Linked DNA regions of Homo sapiens: all the other regions are linked to region 1. Evidence: promoter capture Hi-C in 16 types of primary human blood cells and fetal thymus (Javierre and others, 2016). All regions are on one chromosome and are shown on one strand. Each heading gives the region's core, a stretch centred on a gene start or on the middle of the fragment in contact. The rest is flanking DNA. Distances are from core to core; before and after follow the strand shown. Region 1 holds the start of CD244 (CD244 molecule). Region 2 overlaps SLAMF1 (signaling lymphocytic activation molecule family member 1). Region 3 holds the start of LOC124904439 (endogenous retrovirus group K member 18 Env polyprotein). Region 4 overlaps F11R (F11 receptor).

Region 1 (3,654 bases), core at 725-3,224:
GTCCATCCCTCCCTGTGCCTAACAAGTCACTCACCAGCTTCACCGTGCAAGGGCCGGCATAGCCAAGCCCAGCTATGGTGCTGAAGCCCTGGGAATGGGGGTGGAGGGAGCATTGCCCTCTGTCACACAGGCTCATGACCTCAGGGTCATAACCTCAGCTTCTCTGTTACTCTCATCCCCACAGCCAGGCACCAATCCCATCAGTCCTCCTTCGGCTGTCTGAGCTGCATTCAAGGATCCTTAGACCAGGTTCCAACCTAGCTCTCCTGCCTAGAATCCTGGGCCACTAGGCCCCCCAACCCACCCACAAGAGCTGCAGGCTCCACTCCTCCCTCCCTGCTCCCTGTTCCTCATCATGCTCTGCCCTAGGCTGCCTGCATCCTTACAAATGTTGAGTCCACCTGAGCCTTGACTGTGTCTTCCTGAAGGACACAAGAATGCTCAGGGACTCGGTAACTGAATTGAGTACCTGGGCATGGGACTTTATTGCATATGGGGCTTCTACCTGGCCCTGAACCCACACAACACTATGCCTCAGTTTCCCCTCTTTGTGCCCAGAGTGTACCCTCCTCTAATTCCACGCTCTCCACCTCCGTGAAGCCCCTGCAGAGTCACTGATCTAAAATGCAGAACCCTGGCTGGGCATGGTGGCTCACACCTGTAATCCCAGCACTTTGGATGGGGGAGACCAAGGTGGGCAGATCACCTGAGGTCAGGAGTTCAAGACCAGCCTGGCCAACATGGTGAAACCTGGTCTCTACTAAAAATACAAAAATTAGCCAAGCATGGTGGCGCACGTCTGTAATTTCACCTACTCGGGAGGCTGAGGCATGAGAATCACTTGAACCCGGGAGGCAGAGTTTGTAGTGAGCCAAGATCACGCCACTGCACTCCAGCCTGGGTGACAGAAGGAGACTCTGTCTCAAAAAATAAATAAATAAATAAAAATTAAAAATGAAATAAATAAATTAATTCAATTAAATTAAATGCGGGATCCAGGTTTCAGAGCATCCTGGACCCCAGAACTGGAGAAAGAGGGGAGCAGCCCTCAGCTGGGATCCCCAGGAGTAAATGTTAGATGGCTCCATGCCTGGCTGACAGCTTTAGGTTTGCTGTGGAGCTTCCTCATATTGTCTCCTTCTTCTGCCCCAACCCTGCATGTCCCTAATAATTTCCAGGCTCCTGTGGCATCTGGATGGCTGAAGAAGCCGGGGAGATGAGGGACCATGCCTTCCAGCTTCTTCCTGGCTGCTGGCCTCGCCCTCCCCTCCCTGGGCTCAGCTTTCCTGCCTCAGGGGTCCATCCATCTGTCTCTGAGCTCGAGAACCACCCACTTCCTTGGGACTGCTTCTCTTCTCTCATGCCACAATTGGAGGATGCAATTTTCATCATCTTTACAGGCGGCTGGAAGGAGGCTTCTCTCTCCACTACACGGAAGGGTAAATTGAAGCCAGTGGGAAGGAATCTCCTCACCCAAGACTTCCTGGATTGCTGGTGGCAGGGCCAGATACCCCTCTCACAGACCTCCCAGTGCACTGCCAGCCTGTCCTGTCTGATTTAGACTGTCAGAGCTGTCAGGAGCTGCTCGGAGTCAAGTTCCAGATGACTGTGTATGTGGCACAAGCAGAGGCTCTGGCTCTGATCTCCCTGAGGGGCACAGCTCCTAGTCCCTCCCTCGCCCCACGCCAGGTAGGACCTCCTTACCTTTGCCCTGATACACCTTGAGGAGCAGGAGGAGTATGAGGGTGACCACTTGCCCCAGCATTTCCACAGGACAGAGGGGCCAGGCCAGCCCCTCCACCCCACCAGACTCTCTGCCGTGCACGGGCTCAGCAGTCCCCAGTCAGCAAGAGGACGATGGGGAGCAGAACTGCCTTGCAACCTGTCCAGCCACAGTTTCCTCAATTAGAGGCTGTTAACGCCTGCTGTGAGCTGACAAGGCCACTGAGAAAGCCCCAGCGCCTGGAGCTGGTCTGACAGTTCCCACAAGCCAAACTGGTGAAGCTTACCTCAAGTGGGAGGGTGCTTGAAGTTCACAGTGACTCACAAAGCCAGTTTCAAAATTGCATCCCGTTCTCTGCTTCAGCCCAAGAAGTCTTCCAATTCTCTGAATCCTATATGGAGAGACCCCCATGGGGGCCAAACAGCCAGTATCCCCAACTGTTCCATTCCAACAGACATTGTGGAGGTGGAGTGGAGAGGGGCTGGAGGAGGAGTGGGCTGAAACGTAGGGCCCTGGATAAGCGGCTAACAGTGTTGAAGGAAAGGAGGAGTAGCTGAGAGAACATAGGAAGAGACCTAAGGGCTGGAGGCACTAGAAAAATCTAGCAAGCCTGGGGATTCCATGCAAGTTGACACCAAAGTTTAAGCACATGTAAATTAAATTTGTTTCATAAGAATTTGTTTCACACGGGGCACAGTGGCTCACGCCTGTAATCCCAACACTTTGGGAGACTGAAGCAGGCAGATCACTTGAGATCAGGAGATCGAGACTAGCCTGGCCAATATGGTGAATCCCCACCTCTACTAAAAATAGAGAAATTAGCCAGGCTGGGTGGCGTGCACCTGTAATCCAAGCTACTTGGGAGGCTGAGGCAGGGGAATCACTTGAGCAAAGGAGGTGGAGGTTGCGGTAAGCCAAGATCACGCCACTGCACTCCAGCCTAGGTGACAGAGCGACACTGTGTCTCAAAAAAAAAAAAAAAAATTTTGTTTTGCTCCACATTTCCGATCTGTATGCCTAGATTCCCTCCCTTCCTCTTTTTCTACTTTTCTATAGTAGTCCTCTCTTCCCTCTTTTGTCTTCTCCCAGAAGTGACATGGGCCTATTTTTGCTGCCTTCCCATCCATGCTTGGACGCCACCCTCCAGGAAGGCCAGGCAGCTCTGGATCTGCTTAGGCCCCCATGGAGGGGTGGGGACAGCGGCATCCCCCCTCCCCTGGAACACTGTGCTTCAAGGCCAGGCCCCAGGGTTCATGCCTCTTTCTTTCTTCCTTCTGCTTTCCCCTTAACAAATACTTTCAGTTCCCTTCAAGTCCGCTCTTATTCTCTTTTTCCATCCTTTGGTCCATTTCCAGCCACCCTGTCTGAACTGGGCAGGGGGCAGCAGACTGACAGCTTCAGCTGCCAACAGAGGCAGCAGCGGGGCTCTGGACAGAGCGCTGGATTTAGAGTCAAAGACTTGGACTTGCAGCTCCCATTCAGCAACTTACAACCTATGTGATTCTGGCCTTGTTGCTGTCTGAGCCTGTAGGGTCAACAATACATCCTCCCCACCTTCACAAGGCAGTTTTCAGGATCAAATTAAAAATGATACTCCAGAATATGCACACAAAAAACACTGGACATAGATGAGGTTTTTGTGGTTTTGTTTTCATTTTTTTAAGCTCTGAATAGCTTTTTCCAGCGGGTCTAATGGTTATCATCTCTTCTCTCCTTTGTCTGCTCCCAAGGGGCAGCCCTCAACCCTGGGGAATTTCTTCAGAGTTGATCTGGCCATGTCCTTAACCTTGAGAAGTGGTGCACAAGACATGATATAACAAAGAAGGGTAAACTTCCTCACACGACAGGTGGAAAACAAGATCCAGCTGTTGGAACCCACTAATGAATGTGAATTAGGAATCAGCCTCTCCAATCCTGACCCCAACACCAGC
Region 2 (3,654 bases), core at 517-3,016, 240 kb before region 1:
TTCAAACACTGACGTTTAGTGACTTTAGGAGAACTCTTGTTCTTGACTCCTGTTCCCTACCTTCCTCTGCTCTGGATGGAAAACTGTGAATGTCCAACAGGCAAGGTAGACTGGCCAGGAATACTCTAGGAAACATGACAGGTTCATCTCAAACAAAATATAGAACTTACACCTGGTTTCTGGACTTGGGCATAGATCGTAAGGCTTTTTTTTTCCACTGTTGTCTGGTAATGGTTCGTTTTACCTGGTGAAAAGAAACCATAATGGTTATCTCCCTCTGGTCCCCAGCAGGAGCTCCTTACTCAGACCTGGTCTTTACTGTCCTTTGCATACCCACTTTCCCCAAGGGCACAATGGAAACAAAGCCCTGAGTCCCAGCCCCCCTGCACATTTGTCATATTGTCTTAGGTTAGTTACTTGATCACTCTAGGCCTATCTGTGAAATGGGATTTGAAATACCTGCCTCACGGGGCTGTTGTGATAATTAAATGAGATACCACTTGTAAAGTGTTTAGAACACTGCCTGGTGCATAACAAATGCCCAATACGCATTAGGTGTTTTTCTCATTGGTGTACCATTCAATTACTTTAATCTCTGTTGCTCAATGTGCATATCTGGTCTCCTAATAGGATTCTAAGTTCTTTGAGGGCAGGGCTAGTTGTTTATACCTCTTTTGTATTTTCCAGCTGGTAGTATGTTGCTTCACTCACAGCTTTCTCACCTCCCTATTTCTGGGGGAATTGATGTGTGGGAGGTAAGGGCGGGGGGACGTGTAAGAGGGATGTTCCACCTGGGACTATTTAGAAAATAAAGCAACAATGTCATTCTGTTGCCCACCATCTGGAAATTTTGCTCAGGGCCTAGGGTCTCTGGAAATTAATAAGTTGCAGAATATTTTAATTTTTAGCCAATTTTAAAAAGCTTTCTTTTTAAATTATAGGAGTAATTTATTCTCATCATAAAATAAAAATTGTGAAGAAATATATAAAGTATAAAGTAAAAAGTATAAATCCCCTTCTTCCATTAACCAACCCAATTTCATTCCCAAAAGAAACCGTATTTTTCAATACCTGTGAAAAGAAGTGGGAAAAAAAAGAAGAAACCATTTTTAAAAGTTTGATGTATATCCCTGTAGATCAGCTCTGTGCAACAGAACTTTCTGAGATGATGGAAATGTTCCATATCTGCAGTGTCTAATACAGCTTACAGACACGGGGCTATGGAGCACCTGAACTGTGACTAATGTCACTGAATTTTAAATTTTATTTAATTCAAATTAATTTAAATTTAAAAAGCCACATGTGGCTAGTGACTACCATATTAGACAATGCAGTTTTGGATATTTGCTATACTTATATAGACTTTTTTCCACACAAGAGGTGTCATTCTGCACACACTTCTCTGTAACTTGATCTTTTCACTTAAAATGTATTGAGGACATTTTTCATGTTAGCACAGTAGACCTATCTCATTCTTTCTAAAGTTGCACAGTATCCTTTGTATACATCATGCAGCAGTAAGGATGGTGGGAAAGTGGCAGACTGAAGGATGGAGGTTTATTATGGGATTATTGCAAAGTCCAGGCAGAGGCAATGGAGGCTGGACCCAGAAAATCACAGCCTTTAAGGTAGACTTATTTTAACACCAGTTAATTTATTCTCTTAAAAAACTGGGCTGGGTGCAGTGGCTCACGCCTATAATCACAGCACTATGGGAGGCTGAGGTGGGCAGATCACGAGGTCAGGAGTTTGAGACCAGCCTGGCCAACATGGGGAAACCCTGTCTCTACTAAAAATACAAAAATTAGCCAGGCATGGTGGCACGCGCTTATAATTTCAGCTACTCAGGAGGCTGAGACAGAAGAACTGCTTGAGCCCAGGAGACAGAGGTTGCAGTGAGCCGAGATCATGCCATTGCACTCCAGCCTGAGTGACAGAGCAAGAATCTATCTCAAAAAAAAAAAAAAAAAAAAAAAGGCACATCTCTGAGGAAATAGCATTTTTAGGAGAGGCACATTTTTCTTTGGAAGGGAAAGGCCCAGTGTGTATGTGGTGAGCATGGTGGAATGTGCTGCGTGAGGGTGTGAGTCTTGGGGAGGAAATGTGGGGCAGACACTGATGAAGTTCCAGGAATTCAAGGAAAGTCAACATGGGATTTTTTGTGTGTGGGTATGAGCACGGTGTGCCTAGTGGTTTCAACTTCGCTTTTTTGGTCAGAGTTGATCCTGACTGAGGAGTGTGCGTGAGTGCGTGTGTGTGTGTGTGTGTGTGTGTGTGTGTGTAAAATGGAGGGGAGGACTCAAGAAGCAGTTGGAGGTAGCAGAGGAGGTTCAAGTTAGTCCCCACGAGTGTTTGCAAAGTAAGACATGCCTGCCCAGCACTCTCCTAGGTGCTGTAGTGGCTACAAATAGAGTAGAGAACAGACTACAGTCCTCAAAGACTTTCAGTCTTGCAGGTCAGCTCAGAGTCAAATGTAGAACTGGAAGGACAGTCCTAAATGGTCAGACAGATGGAAGAGGTGAGGTTGATTGTTGCTGCTTAAAAGGACCATTGGACCAAGATAATTTAGTCTCAGGTTATTTTCCCCAGTGCAAGAACAGGTTTTTAGGAGTAAGCTTAACTCGGCTCCAAGTCAGCAAGGTCTTAGGCTCTAAGGAAAAAGTCTTGGCCTTAAAATTAGGACATCTACATTGTAGCCATCATTAGCTGTGTGGCATTGGACAAATCACGTCATCTCAATGGGTCTTTTCTCTTACCATAACTGTAAAATGAGGGCATAGAGTATCTAATATCCTTTTCAGCTTTTACCTGAAGCATAAAGTCTTATGTTACCATGACTTAAAATATTTTCAATCTGTTCTAGGTATTGTTTCCAGATGCTTCCAGTGCAGCTTCTCCTGGCCATAGCACTTACACATTGCCATTTTAATTCATCTACACTAAGAGATCTGTCTATCTGTCTATGTATCTATCTGTCTATGTATCTATCTATCTATCACCCATCGATGGGAACCACTGTGTTCAGTGTTTTCTGTGTATTGATACCAATCTCCACCACAATACCATGAAGTACATAGTATTACCCCTGTTTTGCAGACGAGAAGTTAAGTCATTTGATCACACAGCTTGTCAGTAGCAAAATCTGCATCTGAATGTAAGTTTGTCTAATGCCTATACCCACATTCTTTATCAGTGTATTCTCCTGGACATGAAATTGCCAAAGAGTCATGAAATTGAAAAGCCTTCAGCGTCAGGCTGCATTCTGATGATTATAGCATTAGAAGCTGCCAATATAATTTCTTTAGCAAGGTTTTATGAAAGGTGCAGCAACTAAATATAAATTTTACCGCAAGTTTGAGGCAGTTTTGTGTGTTGCTAACTTACAAGGGACAAATGGTGAATGGGGTTGAGGTGAGGATGGGTATGTGTGTTGGGGAAGGTAGTGGGGAATTGTGGGATGGGGAGCACTATTCCCTTAGAGCACAACCATGTGATAAGCCAAGTGTGGTTGAGGAAAGAGTATGGCGTAGGATCCCAGCAATTTTACTAGGTAGGTTAATGTGGATAAGTTAAGTTCAGTTTTCTCATCCTGGGTCATCTCACTATTTCCTTATAGTATGAGCTAAATGTGATTGCCCTACCCCGAGCCCCATA
Region 3 (3,654 bases), core at 1,049-3,548, 180 kb before region 1:
CAAAAAAAATGGATTTATTATTGCTTTTATCCTCTCTTCGGATGAACAGTCACACCCATTTTATAGAGGACAGGGAATGTGCGTCTTCCTTTTTCTGGATCTCAGGATGTGATATTGATATGAGGGTGGTGTTGGAACCACCAGCCAAATTGTGTTCTCATGGTCAGATACCACACTGTCACAGTGGGTCTGTGGTGGCAGAAGAGCAAGGCATATCAGGAGAGGCTGGTAGAGACAGGGCCAATTAGTTAGGAAGAATAAGGAAGAGCATACACAGTCTCCGTAGTCCACATGTGGGAGTAGAGATAAAGAAATCAGTGCAGTTAAGGAGGGTAGACAGAGCCCAGGAAGACCACAAAACAGCAACGTTCTCAGAGGCCAGAATCCCTGATGACTGGGCATGACAGGGGTCACAGGTGAATGTGAGCACCTCAGGTCTGAGTTATTCTAGAAGAATGTGTACGCTAGGGCTCAGGGATCTGACTTCAGGATTGTGGAGGGTATCTGACTCTGGTATTTCCCAGAGTGCTGGAGATATTGATCCAAGTTTATTAAGGGTCCCCAAAACTCTAAGAGACTGCGTCTCATTTAGCTCCCGCTTACTAAGGACTTGTCAGCCACTGTGATAGGCAGTTACGTGTCTTGTCTCATTGAATCCTTAGCACGAGATAGGAACTGTTATTTTGTCCTTTATTTAGGAAGAACATGACTTGGGGAAGCTAAGTAACTTGTTTAGCTAGTAAGTGACAGTCCTAGAAGTGACCCCAGGTATGACTGACTCTAAAACCCATGGCCTTAGCTGTCCCATGCTAGCACCAGTGTAGGCCTGATCTAGAGCCAGGTGTGACACTCATGAGTGGATCCTCCCAGGAGACAGGGGAATCTGGCTTCCTAAGTTCATCTAGGAACATCAGGCTGGGGAGGAGAAGCTTCGCCTGAGGCTCAGGCTCTCACGCCTCCTCGACGGCCTCTCTCAGGCCCGTCTCCTCAGTCCCTCTTTCCCTGGCTGACTTTGGCGGTCTAATGACCTCGGTCCCTCTTTCCTTGGCTGACTTCGGCTGTCTAATGAAGCCCCTCTAGACAGCTGCTCGCCCACTTGCCCTTCCTTCTCCCTGCTCACCCTGATGTTTCAGTCTACTCTATGATGACCCTGGCCTCAGATGTTAGGACTATGCTTTGTTAGAGCGGGAGAGGGAAGAGGAGTATCAGAGATCTCTCCCAAACGTCCTTTGCAGGTGAGAACACTGAGCCCCCACGAAGTTGAGGTAAGCTGGCTGGGAGGTGGTGGTAGAGCTGGTGGCAGAACCCACGTCTCCCAGCTCTCCCAGACACCTTAGGGATTCACCACCACACTGTGCAAGGAGGCTGAATAGGACCCCCAGCCTTTCTTTGTTCAAAACAACTCCAGTTACCCTGTGCCCCCCTCAGCTCCCAGGGATCCTTCTTACCCAGGGTACAGGGTGGACTGAGGCAGACCGTGCCATTCTTGCTGCTCACAGAATTGCTGACTTGGCAAGTATAACACCTGGAGTAATTATGTGGCATAAGGGTGGTTTCAAGCACACTGTTCTGGAGCTCCTTTGGGAAGGGCCTTTTGTCCCCATACCAGGTGTAGTTTACAGACTCGCCAGGTATCACACATGACAGTTTCAGATAACAGTTGTCATCCATGTCTTCTATCTTCTCAATTTTGATGACAGGCTTGGGTACAGGGTCTGAAAGTGAGGAGGATGTTATAAGATGAGACAGTGAGGCATTCATGCTGTGAAGGTTTAGCCAACAAAGAACAAAGGGATCCAGGGAAGGGGCCTGAATGCCCCAGGAGGCAGAGTCATGAAGAAGAAGTTCTACAGAGGGAGCCAGTGAGCAGCCTTGACCTCCTGAGGCCTCACAGACTCACTGCAAGAGCGGCTTCTAGGCAGTGAAGCTAAGCTGCGTCCTGGAGGGGGCGCCACAGTCCATCATATGCTCTGGGAACAAAATGGGGTTATGATCGTGTGTGAGCCTGAACGAACAGCCCAGAGACTTGCTGGGGTCAGACTTAGTATATCAACTGCCTGAGATGCTCAGGGACCCTTCTCTAGCAACGGTTCATGGCGGGCACCTTGGCTGGTCTGTCTTTCCAATTATCGGATTCAGCTTCAGCAAGAGTCCTAAGGTAAGAGGTACCTGTCTGCGCGTGGCAAAGTCCTTTGCACAACCATCCAGTGCAGGTGCCAGCCTTCTAGACTCTGGCAGAGCTACAGAGAAGAACTTCATGTAACTTCCAGCCGCATCAATTGTGATAAACAGATTGGTCTGCTAACTTTGGTATCTCCATGTCTAGCACAATCCCTGCCACATGGCAGGTATTCTATAAGTATCTCATGAAAGGATGAATGAAGTAGTTATGAGATAGAAAGGATAAAACACAGCCGGGTGCAGCGGCTCACACCTGTAATCTCAGCAATTTGGGAGGCTGAGGCAGGAGGATTGCTTGCAGCCAGGAGTTAAGAGACCAGCCTGGGCAACATTGAGAGACTCAGTTTCTAAAAAAAAAAAAGAAAGAAAAGAAAAGAAAAGTAGCCAGGTGTGGTGGTGTGCACTTTTAGTCCCTGCTACTCAGGAGGCTGAGGTAGGAGGATTGCTGGAGCCCAGGAGTTCCAGGGTGCAATAAACTATGATTATACCACTGCACTCCAGCTTGGGTAAGGAGAAGACCTTCAAAAAAAAAAAAAAAAGAAGAAAGAAAGGAAGAAAGAGAGAGAGAAGGGAAGAGAAGAGAGGAAAAAGAAAAAGAAGGGAGGGAGGGAGGGAGGGAGGCAAGTAGACACAAAAACACTAGTTTTGGAGTGAGACCAGCCTGGGTCCTGGACTTGACTCTAGTGGAGTGACATTAGGCAAGGTAGTTAACCCCCTTGCTGTCATCTGTAAACTGACTCTACCTCATCGCGCAATGTTAGTAAGATAAAACGTCACCTGTCATGGATAATTGCTTTTTGAAGAGTGTAAGTATTGCATACATTCTAGAGGCCATTTTACCATTATTACTGTTGTACTGCTGCCGGAGAGAATGAGAGATAGTCCCAGCATCTGGTCCTTCCTTGGCTAAGGCCGGTTTACCTGCAATCCTCTGAGATCTTTTCATTCTGGTCAGGGTGAAACATCTGCAGAATCAATGCAACTCAAATCCCATAAGATTAAAAATTGGCAGAGAATTGACCAGATCAGAGCTTGCCTCTTGGTTGTATGTGTGGAGAGGCTCTAGAAGCTCTACCAATCTGGTCTCTAGAACTCTAGTTTTGTCTCCTCTGTGAAGCTGATCTCAGATCGCTAAAAGATTGCTCAGACTACAGAGGTGATAAAAGTTTCCTGGACTTCCCCTATATGTTTTAATTGAGCAATTTTTATCCTGGTTTTCACCATTTCCTGTGTTCTAGCCTCATATCTTACACTCCTTCTGCATTTCCCATGGTGATCAGCACAGCACTGGGCACTTTGCTGATGGAATTAATTGAGCCAGCTTGGGTTGTCCAGCTCCAAGATGCTCGCTTTGAGCTGTCAGAAATGCTTGGGCTGGACCAGAGGACCATTTTTTCTGCTAATCACTTCCTGGAAATCTTACCCTCAGGCAGGATGTGCTGAAGCCCAAGCCAGTTTGTGGATTTTTAAGTA
Region 4 (3,654 bases), core at 760-3,259, 150 kb after region 1:
CCCTTCCTCCCCACCACTCACCCTGTAGAGATTGAAGTAACTCCCATAAGGGTTGGCCTCCTCGTAAAGATCAAGAGGCTCCATGGGCCAGGGAAGTTCCACAGGGAAGGGCCTTTCCGGGGTTTGGGGTAGAACAGTTTAGAAATGTGTGAGCAAGAGGAAGGCTCTGTGAGGCCAACAACAGGCTGGGCTATGTCTAAATAGCCATCCTTGGCTGCACTTTCAGTGATGTCGATCAGCTGGCTCGGGTCCTCTGAGGATGGCAGAAAGTGGTAATGGCAGGGTAAGACAGGCTCGCTTTCACTCCCTGGCTCCCTCCCGCCCTCTCTGCAGAATTTCCGGTTCTACCTGCTCAGCTCCCCCGCCACCCCATCTTCCCAGTGCAAGGGAAGGTCGAGCCTTCCAGCGCAGGACTTACTTCAGGGGCCCAGCACCCACTTCCTGCCAGCCAGCTGCTTCCTCCTGTTCCGCCCCTACATTGTGAAACAAATGACGCAGCCGGACTTTAGACAGAAACCCTGCTTATCAGGGAGTCCAGGCAGATGAACTCTGGGTTCTCAATGCCAGGAAAACCCTAGTGTGTATCCACTCTCACAGTATGTGTTCACTCATACTGCTTTCCACAACCGTCACACAATAGTGAAACCTCATCCTCAATTATGTTGGACGCAAGGTCATCCAGGTCTTTCCTGAATCTCTGAAACAGAAACTGGTTTGAGTTTAGAGATCTCCAGGGTCTCTAGTCAAACCTAACAGATGTGATAAACAAGTCTCATTATTATCACATAAAATGTGCATGGCATTTAAATCTATTTTTGGGTGTGGTGGAAACGTGTGTTGCCCATTTATGTGTCCACAGAACAAGTGCAAATTGAACTCAGCTGACTTGGAGGGGGGTGGGATGTATCCTAACAGCCAAGGCCACAATCCCTAGAAACCAATATGGGCCAGGTGTAGTGACTCATACCTGTCATTCAGCATTTTGAAAGGCCAAGGCAAAAGGATCCCTTAAAGCCAAGAATTCAAGACCAGCCTGTACAACAGATGAGACCCTGTCTGTACTAAAAAAATAAAAAATTAGCCAGGTATGGCTCACCACTCACACTTGCCTATAGCCTCAGCTATTCAGGAGGCTAAGACTGGAGGATTGCTTGAACCCAGGAGGTCAAGGCTGCAGTGAGGCCAGGCACGGTGGCTCATGCCTGTAATCCCAGCACTTTGGGAGGCCAAGGCAGGCGGATCACTTGAAGTCAGGAATTCAAGACCAGCTTGGCCAACATGGTGAAACCCTATCTCTACTAAAAATACAAAAATTAGCCGGGCAGCTCACACCTGTAATCCCAGCACTTTGGGAGGCCAATGGGGGCAGATCACAAGGCCAGGAGATCAAGACCATCCTGGCTAACATGGTGAAATCCCATCTCTACTAAAAATACAAAAAAAAAAAAAAATTAGCAGGGAATGGTGGCGGGTGCCTGTAGTCCCAGCTACTTGGGAGGCTGAGGCAGGAGAATGGCGTGAACCCGGGAGGCAGAGCTTGCAGTGAGCCGAGATCACGCCACTGCACTCCAGCCTGGGTAACAGAGCAAGACTCCATCTCAAAAAAAAAAAATTAAATTAAAAAAATATGTACAAAAGGCTGGGCACAGTGGCTCATGCCTGTAATCCCAGCATTTTGGGAGGCCGAGGCAGGCAGATCACGAGGTCAGCAGATCGAGACCATCCTGGCTAACACGGTGAAACCCCGTCTCTACTAAAAAAAATACAAAAAATCAGCCGGAGTGGTGGCGGGCCCCTGTAGTCCCAGCTACTCGGGAGGCTGAGGCAGGAGAATGGCGTGAACCCGCGAGGCGGAGCTTGCAGTGAGCCGAGATTGCTCCAGTGCACTCCAGCCTGGGTGACAGAGCCAGACTCCATCTCAAAAAAAAAAATATATATATATATATATATACACACACACAAAAATTAGCCAAGAATGGTGGTGCACGCTTGTGTCCCAGCTACTCGGGAGGCTGAGGCAGGAGAATCACTTGAACCTGGGAGGCAGAGTCTGCAGTGAGACAAGATCACGCCACTGGACTCCTCCCTGGGCAACACAGCAAGACTTTGTCTCAAAAAAAAAAAAAAAGGCTGCAGTGAGCTATGATCATGCCATTGTACTCCAGCCTGGGCAACAGAGTGAGACCCTGTTTCAAAAACAACAACAACAACAACAAAACTCCATGATATATATATATAAGCAAGATGTAGAATATATGTAGTATGCCTCTTTTTGTGTCAGAAAGGGGAGAAAAAACAAGTATTATTTATATATACTTGTATCTGTAAAATGAAACACTGAAGAGACATTAGAAACTATTGGGGTTTGGGGTGAACAGGAGCAACATGGGAATGAGATACCCCACCCCTTTGATATCATTTTAATTATAAAACCATGTCAATTAACCTATTCTAATTAAATTTTTTTAAAAAAAATCACAGTAGCTCTATCTTGAATCGGAACTGGGCTGGAGACTCCACAAGACATGATCACAAAGGAACTGAAGAGCAACATGGTGAGGTAAAAGTGGTCTGGAGTGGCCAGGTGCAGGGGTTCACGCCTGTAATCCCAGCACTTTGGAAAGCCTAGGCAAGAGGATTACTTGAAGTCAGGAGTTCGAGACCAGCCTGGCCAACATGGTGAAAACCCGTCTCTACTAAAAATACAAAAAATTAGGGGCCGGGCGCGGTGGCTCACGCCTGTAATCCCAGCACTTTTGGAGGCCGTGGCGGGCAGATCATGAGGTCAGGAGATCAAGACCATCCTGGCTAACACAGTGAAACCTCGTCTCAACTAAAAATAGAAAAAATTAGCCAGGCATGGTGGCGGGCGCCTGTAGTCCCAGCTACTCAGGAGGCTGAGGCAGGAGAATGGCATGAACCCGGGAGGTGGAGTTTGCAGTGAGCCGAGATCGTGCCACTGTACTCCAGCCTGGCGACAGAGAGAGACTCTGTCTCAAAAACAAATAAATAAATAAATAATACAAAAAATTAGCCGGGCGTGGTGGCGCGTGCCTGTAGTCCCAGCTGCTGGGGAGGCTAAGGCAGGAGAATCGCTTGAAGCCGGGAGGTGGAGGTTGCAGTGAGCCAAGATCATGCTACTGCATTCCAGCCTGGGTAACAGAATGAGACTCCGTCTCAAAAAAAAAAAAAGTGATCTGGAGCCAGAAGGCAAAGACTAAAGGACACTGAAATTCCACTGCCACTCGTTTCCTAGTTCCAGGTAGAACTAGGAAGTGCCAGTCACCAGTTTCTAGTTTGGAGGGAACAATTCACTCCTGGGAGTAGAGGGAGAGGAAAGGAGGAGTGACTCACCAGTGTGGGGAAAAGCAAGAGAGATCAGATTGTTACTGTGTCTGTGTAGAAAGAAGTAGACATAGGAGACTCCATTTTGTTCTGTACTAAGAAAAATTCTTCTGCCTTGGGATGCTGTTAATCTATGGCCTTACCCCCAACCCCTTGCTCTCTGAAACATGTGCTGTGTCAAACTCAGGGTTAAATGGATTAAGGGTTGTGCAAGATGTGCTTTGTTAAACAAATGCTTGAAGGCAGCATGCTCCTTAAGAGTCATCACCACTCCCTAATCTCAAGTACCCAGGGACAAAAACACTGCGG

What was found. The method cuts DNA at HindIII sites, captures the fragments that hold promoters and counts their contacts. A CHiCAGO score of 5 or more calls a contact.
Region 2: a fragment that was not itself captured here is called in contact with the fragment with the promoter of CD244 in region 1 in 2 of 17 cell types (total CD8 T cells and M2 macrophages); the score reaches 5.4 in total CD8 T cells.
Region 3: a contact is called between a fragment that was not itself captured here and the fragment with the promoter of CD244 in region 1, in 2 of 17 cell types (megakaryocytes and total CD8 T cells). The highest score is 7.9, in megakaryocytes.
Region 4: a fragment that was not itself captured here is called in contact with the fragment with the promoter of CD244 in region 1 in 1 of 17 cell types (megakaryocytes); the score reaches 5.2 in megakaryocytes.

The regions. Positions count from the first base shown.
Region 1 is chr1:160,860,913-160,864,566 of GRCh38, forward strand. It overlaps CD244 (CD244 molecule), which reads right to left and starts at 1,975. Exons shown (of 9, transcript NM_016382.4): 1 at 1,705-1,975. The coding sequence starts at 1,765. RefSeq lists an enhancer at 1,791-1,840. The HindIII fragment of the contact is 2,100 bases long and covers 1-2,002 here.
Region 2 is chr1:160,619,606-160,623,259 of GRCh38, forward strand. SLAMF1 (signaling lymphocytic activation molecule family member 1) reads right to left here. Exons shown (of 7, transcript NM_003037.5): 5 at 171-244. Among named protein-coding and RNA genes, the nearest start is that of SLAMF1, 26 kb to the right of the region's middle. The HindIII fragment of the contact is 1,693 bases long and covers 921-2,613 here.
Region 3 is chr1:160,679,754-160,683,407 of GRCh38, forward strand. It overlaps CD48 (CD48 molecule), which reads right to left. Exons shown (of 4, transcript NM_001778.4): 3 at 1,449-1,715. It overlaps LOC124904439 (endogenous retrovirus group K member 18 Env polyprotein), which reads left to right and starts at 3,453. Exons shown (of 1, transcript XM_047438433.1): 1 at 3,453-3,654. RefSeq lists an enhancer at 1,681-1,770. The HindIII fragment of the contact is 2,742 bases long and covers 928-3,654 here.
Region 4 is chr1:161,013,478-161,017,131 of GRCh38, forward strand. The region is part of intron 1 of F11R (F11 receptor); the gene reads right to left. Among named protein-coding and RNA genes, the nearest start is that of F11R, 5.8 kb to the right of the region's middle. RefSeq lists enhancers at 7-156, 567-786, 2,428-3,025. The HindIII fragment of the contact is 7,117 bases long and covers 1-3,654 here.